Regions from separate parts of the Homo sapiens genome. Here regions 1 and 3 are each linked to region 2. The links are contacts of gene promoters, found by promoter capture Hi-C in human tissues and cell types (Jung and others, 2019). All regions are on one chromosome and are shown on one strand. Each heading gives the region's core, a stretch centred on a gene start or on the middle of the fragment in contact. The rest is flanking DNA. Distances are from core to core; before and after follow the strand shown.

Region 1 (3,519 bases), core at 462-2,961, 560 kb before region 2:
TTCATTTGTGTATCTAAGAAGCATAACATGTTAAAACCAAAATTTTTTTTTCTTCTCACATCTGCTCTTTATATGGATTCCCCTTGGCTTATCCATCCCCTAAACTGCACAATCAAATGTCTAGGCACTATCCTTTTTCTTTATTTTCTCAAATTTGACTTTTTTCCTTCTCTTTTCCTTCCTTCCTTCCTTCCTTCTTTCCTTCCTTCCTTCCTTCCTTCCTTCCTTCCTTCCTTCCTTCCTTCCTTCCTTCCTTCCTCTCTCTCTCTCTTTCTTTCTTTCCTTCTTTTTTTTCTTAAAGCTCTTACTCTATCACCCAGTCTGGAGTGCAGTGGCATGGTAACGGCCCACCACAGCTTTATCTTCTCGGGCTCAAGCAATCCTCCCACCTCAGACTCCCGAGTAGTTGAGACTACAGGTATGCACCAGCACACGTGGTTATTTTTTTCTATTTTTTGTAGAGATGGGGTGTCTTGCTATGTTGCCTGGGCTGATCTTGAACTCCTGGGCTCAAGCGATCTTCCTGCCTCAGGCTTCGTAAGTGCTGGGATCATAGGCAAGAGCCATGGTGCCTGGCTCACATTTGGCATATCTATCATCAACAAGTCTTGTCACCTCTACTTCAAAAAGTGCCTTGAATTTGTTAATTCTCACTGTCTCCACTTCTATCATTTTGGTCCACACTATTATTATATCTGAGTGTTGTATTAATCTCCTAACATGTCTTCCTATTTCTGTTCTTGCATGCTTTCAATCAATTCTTCACACAGCAGCAGATTGTTTTCAAAATATAAATTTGGTCAATTAACCTGGTTTAAACCGTCCCATAGTTTGCTGTTACACTGAGAACATGGTAAGTCCTTACTAATGCTCACAAGGCTGTTTGTGATCTGGCCCCTGACCCACCTTTCTGATGTCATCTTTACCAGCCCTCCCTTACTCCAAGCTGGCTGAATTTGCTTCCTGCAGTGCACCAAGCTTGCTCTATCTTTTGGGTCTTTGTACTTGATCCTTATACAGCTTATTCCCTTATTTCATAGAAGAGATACCTTCCAATTCCGAGATCTCCCTTATCTAAAGTGAGGCCAAGGCTGCACATTTTATATTCTCTTACTTTCTGATATTTCCTCCATATTACTCATTTCTCTTGCTAGAATGTAAGCCTCCTGAGGTTAGAAATTTTATGTCTTGCTTATAGTAGCATCCCCAATGCTTACCTGAGAGATCCTCCGTACATATTTGTTCAATGAATTAATAAAATGTTATCACTAAAACTGATGTTAATATTCATGAAAAGAGATTACCTTACTGATGTTACCTCATTATTCATTGAAAACAAACATGAAACTATTCATGTGTTCATGTGCCACCTAAAACCATCTTGCCTAATTTTGAATGGCACTCCAGATGCAACACTTTGATTAGCACTATTTTCTATCCTGTGAACATTTCTACCCAGGGTTTGTTGGCCCTGATTGGTTCAATCAGGCATGGGTACCTGGCCAAAGGACAACCAATTTATTATGGTTTGATTATCAACCGGATTTGAAACTGACCAAAACATGCATTATTACCTAGTTAGGCTGAAGCTTGCTTTTGGGTATGGTGGAATACCTAGCAAATGACTATCATTACTGTCTTATTTATAATATTAGAAAACTTAAATTATCTTGAATGTCCAATATAAGAGGACTGGGTAAATACATAGAATGAGATGCTATATGGCCAGTAAAATGATTCGATTAAAGACTTTTGAAAGATATGCGTACTATATACTGTGTATTTTGAGTGAAAAAAATCAGAGAGCACAATTATTTATGCAGTATGACTTTAGTTTTATTAGTTTTTTCTTTTTGTATATATAGTTTCACAAAGAAAAAAAAACCTAAAATTTAAAAGGGCTTCTTTTTTCCTGGATGCTACCAATGAGGACTCTAGGAACATCCCATTGTAGGTGGTTTTATTGCTTCCATATAGTTTTATAAATAATTTCAAATTAATTTAATTAGAATAAAAATTATGTTATTTAGAAACTTTCCATAAAAAGAGCATGCTAAAATTTTATGCATTGTTTAAAACTAATTTATATTCTTGCATTATATGTGCATTGTATATAAAACTATATATAAAGTATTATATTATTATATATGGTTATGCAGTATATATTTATATCAAGTAACAGGTTAGAATGGATTGTATATATTATTTCTACACACACACATGATTTCATAGTTTAGTGAATTATTTGGCAACACTTGAGCTACTACTTCAGTTCAAATTCTGAAGAGTGTTTTATGGTGATTCCTTTAAATAATTGCCAAACATTTGCTTTTTTTCTAAAGAAACTACAATAAAGATAAATAAGTCTAAGTGCAATTATATCAATTTATGAGAATTAAAAAGTTAAAGTCCTATTGTTTAACAGTCAAACTGTGGAGTGATGAGAGCTTCATGGTAATATTATCATTCATTTTATAAATTCAAACATATTCTGGTTAGATTATAATGACCTCCTCTTTAACCTCTAGATACTGCATGCATATAAAGTAGAAAACTCAGCTGTTACACAGTAAGCCTCTAAGAGCAGTTTATTAGAATTCAAATATTAAGGCTGAGGACTGACAATTATGTGGAAGAACAGCCTAAAGATGATGTGTAAGAGCATAATAAACATAAATTTAAAGTTGAGAAGTGAAAGTAATGGGCTGAGTTTGTATTTAATTAGGAAGGCTTTCAGTTTCTCTAAAATCCAGGCTCAGCCATAATTCTTTTGTTCATTTATTTGACAGATATTTATAGAGCATCTGCTGTGCCAACTGCTAAGATTCCAGTGGTGAAAAAGAGAAATAACTCCTACCTTTTTGAAATAGACTGTATGCTAGTCAATAATTACACAATTTATCAGAAAATTATAATTATAATCCATATGAAGACACTGAAGTGGAGTAACATCCAGTCTGAGGTGAGATGTAGAGTCTCAAGGGATCTTTCCTTAGAGAGGAATATTTAAAGCTTCTCAACCCTATTGACCTAAAGCACTCTGGCAGGGGGTGAAATCTCTTTCTTTATAGCCTAGTTGGAAACTGATTGTACAATTAGACACTGACATGCTCAAAATTTCTTACTTCAATTTCCTTTATGCTATAGCACAGAATACTGAGTTGAAGAAGAGGAATGAGGACAAAGTCAGGGACTTGCCAACCAATGAGAAAGTCCCCAATGTCATGGCCCCAAAATGCCATTGATGCCTACTGACTGTTCTAAATAAACAAACAGAAACATTTCTAGGGGGAGATGCTGGGTGAAAGGACAGGGAGAAGGGGAAAGACTAAGGGTTTAGAAGAAAATCAGTTTCCATTGTTTTCAGACCCCTATTACGTGCCAGCAGTATTGCATGTATAATATCTAATATTTGCAAGAATTCTGAAGCACAGATATTGTCGCAATTTAAAGGTGAGGAAACAGGCCAAGAAACCTTGAAGGACTTGCTCAGGGTTACTTAGCAAGTACATTATAGAT
Region 2 (3,146 bases), core at 259-2,758:
AAACTAAATGGGCATTATTGACTCTCAGTAAAAGCTGAATGGAAACTTTTGTCATTGTCTATTACAATCCCAGCAAATATGGCCATGAGGAAGCAAAATAGCTTCATTCTTGAACACTTTCCAGTAGAAGAAAAAATGAGAAACTAGTAAAAACTCCACTTACTAAATAGCTGATTTGCTAAAGCAGACCTCATTCCATTTAAAGACTCAGTATCTATAGGGCCAAGGCAAACTAACTTCTTAGGCAAAAGAAAAGGTAGAGTCAGAGTTCAGGACCACTCTGAAAATTAATTCTTTACATGATAATATATTCTAAGTCACATATGTCTATGTGATACTTCTCCTAAGGGTTCTCGAAGTATAAACTAACCTAACACATTACAATAGTTGGTGATTCTCTAACAACTCTGTCCAACAAAATTTCATTGCTTAATATACATCTCTCTCATTGGATTTTCTGCTGTATCACATGAGAAGCACTGATATTGAGTTCCTGAAGATACACAAAATATTTGCAAGATCAGTGTTACAAACCTATGGCAAATAGAAGACTGTGATAGGAGGACATTCTGTCCATTTTTGCTTGATCTTAAAATCTTATCATAATATGTGGCTTTAACCTGCACACCTTTGGGCTGCCATTGACTATCTTATGGTTATTGCTTATGTTTGATCCTCAGTTCTTCAGGATGTTTTGTAGACTTTGAGAATTCAATGCAAATAGCTTGTATCATATGATTTATTTCTAGTACAGTTATTCAACACATCAATATTTATGTCAAGTGCTGAAAAGAAAAAAGTGTTGGCAATATCTGGATGAATACTGCAGCTAGTAAAGTTTACAAATTATTTTCTCATATTAAGCAAAATTCAAAGCTTCATACACTATGAGAAAAATTTTAAAAAATTATTGATTCATATATTTAGTAGTTTTCAATGATTCAGTATGTAATTACATTCATATTAACGTGTATTTATATAGCTTTTATATTGCATATGTAATTTGATAAAATATAATTTACATTAATGAATTACACTAAAAGTTATTCCAGAAATATACTTATCAAATTAAGTTATATGTCAACAGCTTTTAAACTTAGATTTTAGTTTAACTTTTCTGTCATTCTTAACTTTACATTGAATAAAAAGAGCAAACTTTATAGTTTTTATCTGTGAAGTAGAGGTATACGTAGTATACATAAATAGATATGCCAAATCTGTGTTATTAAAATTTCATGAAGATTCCAATTAGTAAAAAATACCATAAAAGTCTTTGAGTGCAGGGGAAAAATAGGCAATGATGAACAAAATGAAAAACATATGTAAACACATGTAGAGAGTGCATAAAGAAAGCAAAAACAGAGATAGAAAGTAAAACCAGGGCATTTAGAAAATGGAAATTAGTATGTTCACTATTTAAGAACTATGCACAGAGCAAAGTCTTCAGAAAACCTAGAGGCCAAGGTTCAAGTTTACCCATCTCCAGTAGCCTAGCAATATTTGCAACATCCCAATGGCCCTGTCCTTTTCTTTACTGATGGCCGTGCTGGTGCTCAGCTACAAATCCATCTGTTCTCTGGGCTGTGATCTGCCTCAGACTCACAGCCTGGGTAATAGGAGGGCCTTGATACTCCTGGCACAAATGGGAAGAATCTCTCATTTCTCCTGCCTGAAGGACAGATATGATTTCGGATTCCCCCAGGAGGTGTTTGATGGCAACCAGTTCCAGAAGGCTCAAGCCATCTCTGCCTTCCATGAGATGATCCAGCAGACCTTCAATCTCTTCAGCACAAAGGATTCATCTGCTGCTTGGGATGAGACCCTCCTAGACAAATTCTACATTGAACTTTTCCAGCAACTGAATGACCTAGAAGCCTGTGTGACACAGGAGGTTGGGGTGGAAGAGATTGCCCTGATGAATGAGGACTCCATCCTGGCTGTGAGGAAATACTTTCAAAGAATCACTCTTTATCTGATGGGGAAGAAATACAGCCCTTGTGCCTGGGAGGTTGTCAGAGCAGAAATCATGAGATCCTTCTCTTTTTCAACAAACTTGCAAAAAGGATTAAGAAGGAAGGATTGAAAACTCATTCAACATGGAAATGATCCTCATTGATTAATACATCATCTCACACTTTCATGAGTTCTTCCATTTCAAAGACTCACTTCTATAACCACCACAAGTTGAATCAAAATTTTCAAATGTTTTCAGGAGTGTAAAGAAGCATCGTGTTTACCTGTGCAGGCACTAGTCCTTTACAGATGACCATGCTGATGTCTCTATTCATCTATTTATTTAAATATTTATTTATTTAACTATTTTTAAGGTTTAAATCATGTTTTATGTAATATCATGTGTACCTTTACATTTTGCTTAATGTAACAATATATGTTCTTCATATTTAGTTAATATATTAACTTCCTTTTCATTAAATTTTTACTATACAAAATTTCTTGTGTTTGTTTATTTTTTAAGATTAAATACCAAGCCTGACTGTATAACCTGACTTAAAAATAGATGATTTAAGTAAGTTACCTATCATAATTTTATTCAAGTTATAGAAAAATATATTTTTCTATACCACGTTATATGTTGCCTTCAGGATATAAACTTGAACATAAAAAATACAGTTCTTGTTGTCTTGTATCTTTGATTTTTGTCAGGAAATGTTTCTAAAAACAATAATAATGCTGAATTAATATCAGTTATACTAACTGCTGTAATGTGAGGAAGTAAAAAAAAACAATGAATTCCTCTTAGCAGAACATAGATTAAGAAATGTCTGCAAGTAAAAGTAGAGATACTCTCTATAAACTGACTTTCAACATGTAATTGAAAATGTACATTGCAAGTCAGATATATGAGTTTGCAGTTTCCAAGGAATACGATATCTGGAAGTTCATAACTGGCAATGGAAAGGCCTAAAATGAAGGCTGTCATGTGGGGAGCAAGCGGAGAGGGAAAAAAAGACTTAAACTGGATTCTGAGGAACTTCCACTATTAAAGTGGGGGAACAGAAGACACACAAAGAAAACAGAGGTGGAATACCTTATCATTAGAAGGACGAGAGGGAATGATGATAAAATGTATTTAGAAGGAATGATGATAAATGGTGCTGGAAAAACTGGATAGCCATAGGCAGAAA
Region 3 (3,206 bases), core at 386-2,885, 570 kb before region 2:
TAATTTGCATTTCCCTGATGATTGATGATGTTGAATAGTTTTTCATGTATCTGTTGGCCATTTATCTTCTTTTGAGAAATGTCTACTTTGGTCCTTTGCCCATTTTTTAAATCAGGTTGTTTTCTTGCTACTGAATTGTTTTAGTTCCTTATATATTTTGGATATTAGGCCCTTATCAGAAGACAGATTTGCAAATATTTTATCCGAATTCTTGGGTTGTTCCTTTACTCTATTATTTCCTTTGCTGTCCAGAAGATTTTTCTGTTTGATACAGTCTCATTTGTCTATTTTTTCTTTTATTTCCTATGCTTTTTATGTTGTATCCAAGAAACCACTGTTCAGACCAGTATCACAGGGCATTTCCTCTACGTTTTCTTTTAGAAATTTTACAGTTTTGGGCTTTACATTTAAATCTGAAATCTATTTTGAGTTTATTTTTGTATATGGAGTGAGATGAGGGTCTAATTTCATTCTTCTGTGGGTGGATATCCAGTTTTTCCAACGCTGCTTATTGAAGAGACTGTCATTATACCCACTGTGTGTTCTTGAAATCTTTGTCAAAACTACATTGACCACAAATAGGAGTTTATTTCTGAAATTTCTGTTGGGTTCCACTGTTCTATATGTCTGCTTTTATGCCAGTACCATGCTAGGATTTTTAAATTCTTGTTTTTCCTTTTATTTTTAGTTGGCACAAAATAATTGTATGTATTGTGGGATACAGTGATATTTTGGTACGTGTATATCATGTTGTTTAGGAAAAACTCTCAAACCATTTTTCCTGTGCTCTCACACCATAACAATCAACACAGGAGACTTCTGTGATCCAAAAATATGTGTTTATTTTCCCCCTCCAGCAAGCAAGCAGTCAATTCTGCAGGAGGACCCAGCTGGGTGTCCTCTAATTTAATTCCAACTATCTACCCAGATAAATCATCAGATCCCACAGGTTAGGAGCTTACTCCCACAAGCCCATCCCCTCCTTCCCCCCGGTTGCAAGTCCAGGCTTCTGGAACTTCGGACTGACTGGCTTCAAATTGGGGTTCCCGTGAACCTCCTCCCCCCACCTTTGGGTTCGATTAATTTGCTGGAGTGGCTCACAGAACTCAGGGAAACACGTTTACTGATTTATTATGAAGGGTATTTGAAAGGATATGAATAAATATCCAGATAAAAAGATACATAAAGTGAAGTCTAGAAGGGTCCTGAGCACAGGAACTTCTGTTCCCATTCAGCTGGGGTGCACCACCTTCCTGGCACGTGGATGAGCTCTTCATTTCATATCATGGAGATATGGCGGTCCTGTTGTACTGGTGATTGTTTCAAGTGGCTGGACTGATGAGTAGGCATGGAGTATTGGTGATCATCTAAGAAGCATCTTATCCAACTGTGAAAATATCTCTGGAGCAGAGGTGTGCAAAGGGAAATATGATGTTGCTGAGGGCTTCCTAGAGCTCCCCAAAAGTCATGTACCAGATACACAATTTTTTCCTAGACCATCTGACAATAATTGCCACAATTAAGTTAAAGCATTAGACACAAATCTTGCTCGTAAAGTAATATATTCCCATCAAGCTCATTTATCTCTTTATTTAAAAGTGTCGGCCGGGCACGGTGGCTTCCGCCTGTAATCCCAGCACTTTGGGAGGCCGAGGCAGGTGGATCACCTGAGGTTGGGAGCTCGAGACCAGCCTGACCAACATGGAGAAACCCCGTCTCTACTAAAAAATACAAAAATTAGCTGGGCATGGTGGCGCATGCCCGTAATCGCAGCTACTTGGGGGGCTGAGGCAGTAGAATCGCTTGAACACGGGAGGCGGAGGTTGCAGTGAGCTGAAATTGGGCCATTGCATTCCAGCCTGGGCAACAAGAGCAAAACTCCATCTCAAAAAAAAAAAAAAAAGTGTTAGTTTATAATGCACTTAAAGAGGAAGCAACAAGTTGTCTGTTCTGTGTGTCATGAGTGGATTATATTATGTTCACTGATCCAGCCCATCCTCTCCCTCCTCCCCTCTCTTCCCTTCACCTTCTACCCTCTTTTCCTCTCTTCCTCAGGTTACTTATAAGGGCAGCCATCACAGATTTGCTACAACTGAACTGACAAACTCAAAGGACACTTCAAAACAGATTTCAATTGAATTTTGTCTTGAGATTCTTCATTTTTCTTTCCTTGTCATGTTGGCCACAATTTGGTATCCAGTTATCTCAAATAGAGTGTAATTCATAGGTTCATGATATAGTTATGTTCATTAGATGAATGAATAAGTGAATGACTAAATGAATGAATGAATGAAGAACACATTATTATGGTTTTAGTTTTAGCAAAAGAGGAAGTTCAGAAATGCTAAGGAACCTGAACACCAGGGGGCATCAAAAGTTTGCTTTCTTTTTTTTTTTTCTCAAACCTGCCTTTTAAAATAGTCTAAAACTTGAGTCATATTGGCTTCATAAGAGAAAGTGCGAGAGAGAAAGGGGGAAGGGAAAGAGAGAAGTTATAACTTAAAGGTTAATTCTAAAGTGGTAAGTGTACTCTACTGCAGTTTACTTAAGTTGCTTCTACAACAGTGCACGTGGTTTTTCTCATAGTTATATACCAATGACCAGCAGATGACACCACTTCTTATGACCAGCAGATGGCACCACTTGACCTTATGGGTCAAGGAGTACAGTTGTAGGACCAGATTTTGGAGGATAAAGAAACATATATAGGGGATGAAATCTTTCACAAACTTTCTGTAGAAAAACTACTAAAGTAAAGTAAATATTAAGTAGAGAATTAATCCCTGTAGGTCTCAAATACCTTAATTTTTAAAAGGTAGAATTTTAACCAGAGGTATATTGTTCATTTTGAAACAGATAACTAAAATGTTTTTACATGTCAAGTTTAAGCCTCAGAAAAGGTGAGCTGTAATTGATAGAAATAATTTGGATTTCACTGTGTACTTTTAGAATATTCCTTTATCAGATTTTTCAATGACCAATTAATTCACAGATATTAGCCAAAAGAAAGACAGTTGCACACAGACACAATACTGTTAGATTACTGATTAATAGCACTAAATGATTTCCTCCATTGTCCTTGGCTATATAATTTAAGTGTCAACAGAGTACTTCAGGTTCCCTTATGCACTATCAGTTATTTACCTTTTCTAAACATTTAACTACTTTAGTTGGATACTTATAATCAGATAAAAACCGGAACAATG

Evidence for each region. Contacts are between HindIII fragments. The study calls those that stand out against the background at their distance.
Region 1: a contact is called between a fragment that was not itself captured here and the fragment with the promoter of IFNA16 in region 2, in 1 of the 25 tissues and cell types used here (spleen).
Region 3: a contact is called between a fragment that was not itself captured here and the fragment with the promoter of IFNA16 in region 2, in 4 of the 25 tissues and cell types used here (aorta, lymphoblastoid cells, mesendoderm cells and 1 more).

Annotation. Positions count from the first base shown.
Region 1 is chr9:21,772,357-21,775,875 of GRCh38, reverse strand. No RefSeq gene overlaps it. Among named protein-coding and RNA genes, the nearest start is that of MTAP, 29 kb to the left of the region's middle. The HindIII fragment of the contact is 4,969 bases long and covers 1-3,519 here.
Region 2 is chr9:21,215,673-21,218,818 of GRCh38, reverse strand. IFNA16 (interferon alpha 16) reads left to right here and starts at 1,508. Exons shown (of 1, transcript NM_002173.3): 1 at 1,508-2,446. The coding sequence starts at 1,514. The coding sequence ends at 2,083. The HindIII fragment of the contact is 8,956 bases long and covers 1-3,146 here.
Region 3 is chr9:21,789,039-21,792,244 of GRCh38, reverse strand. No RefSeq gene overlaps it. Among named protein-coding and RNA genes, the nearest start is that of MTAP, 12 kb to the left of the region's middle. The HindIII fragment of the contact is 5,476 bases long and covers 1-3,206 here.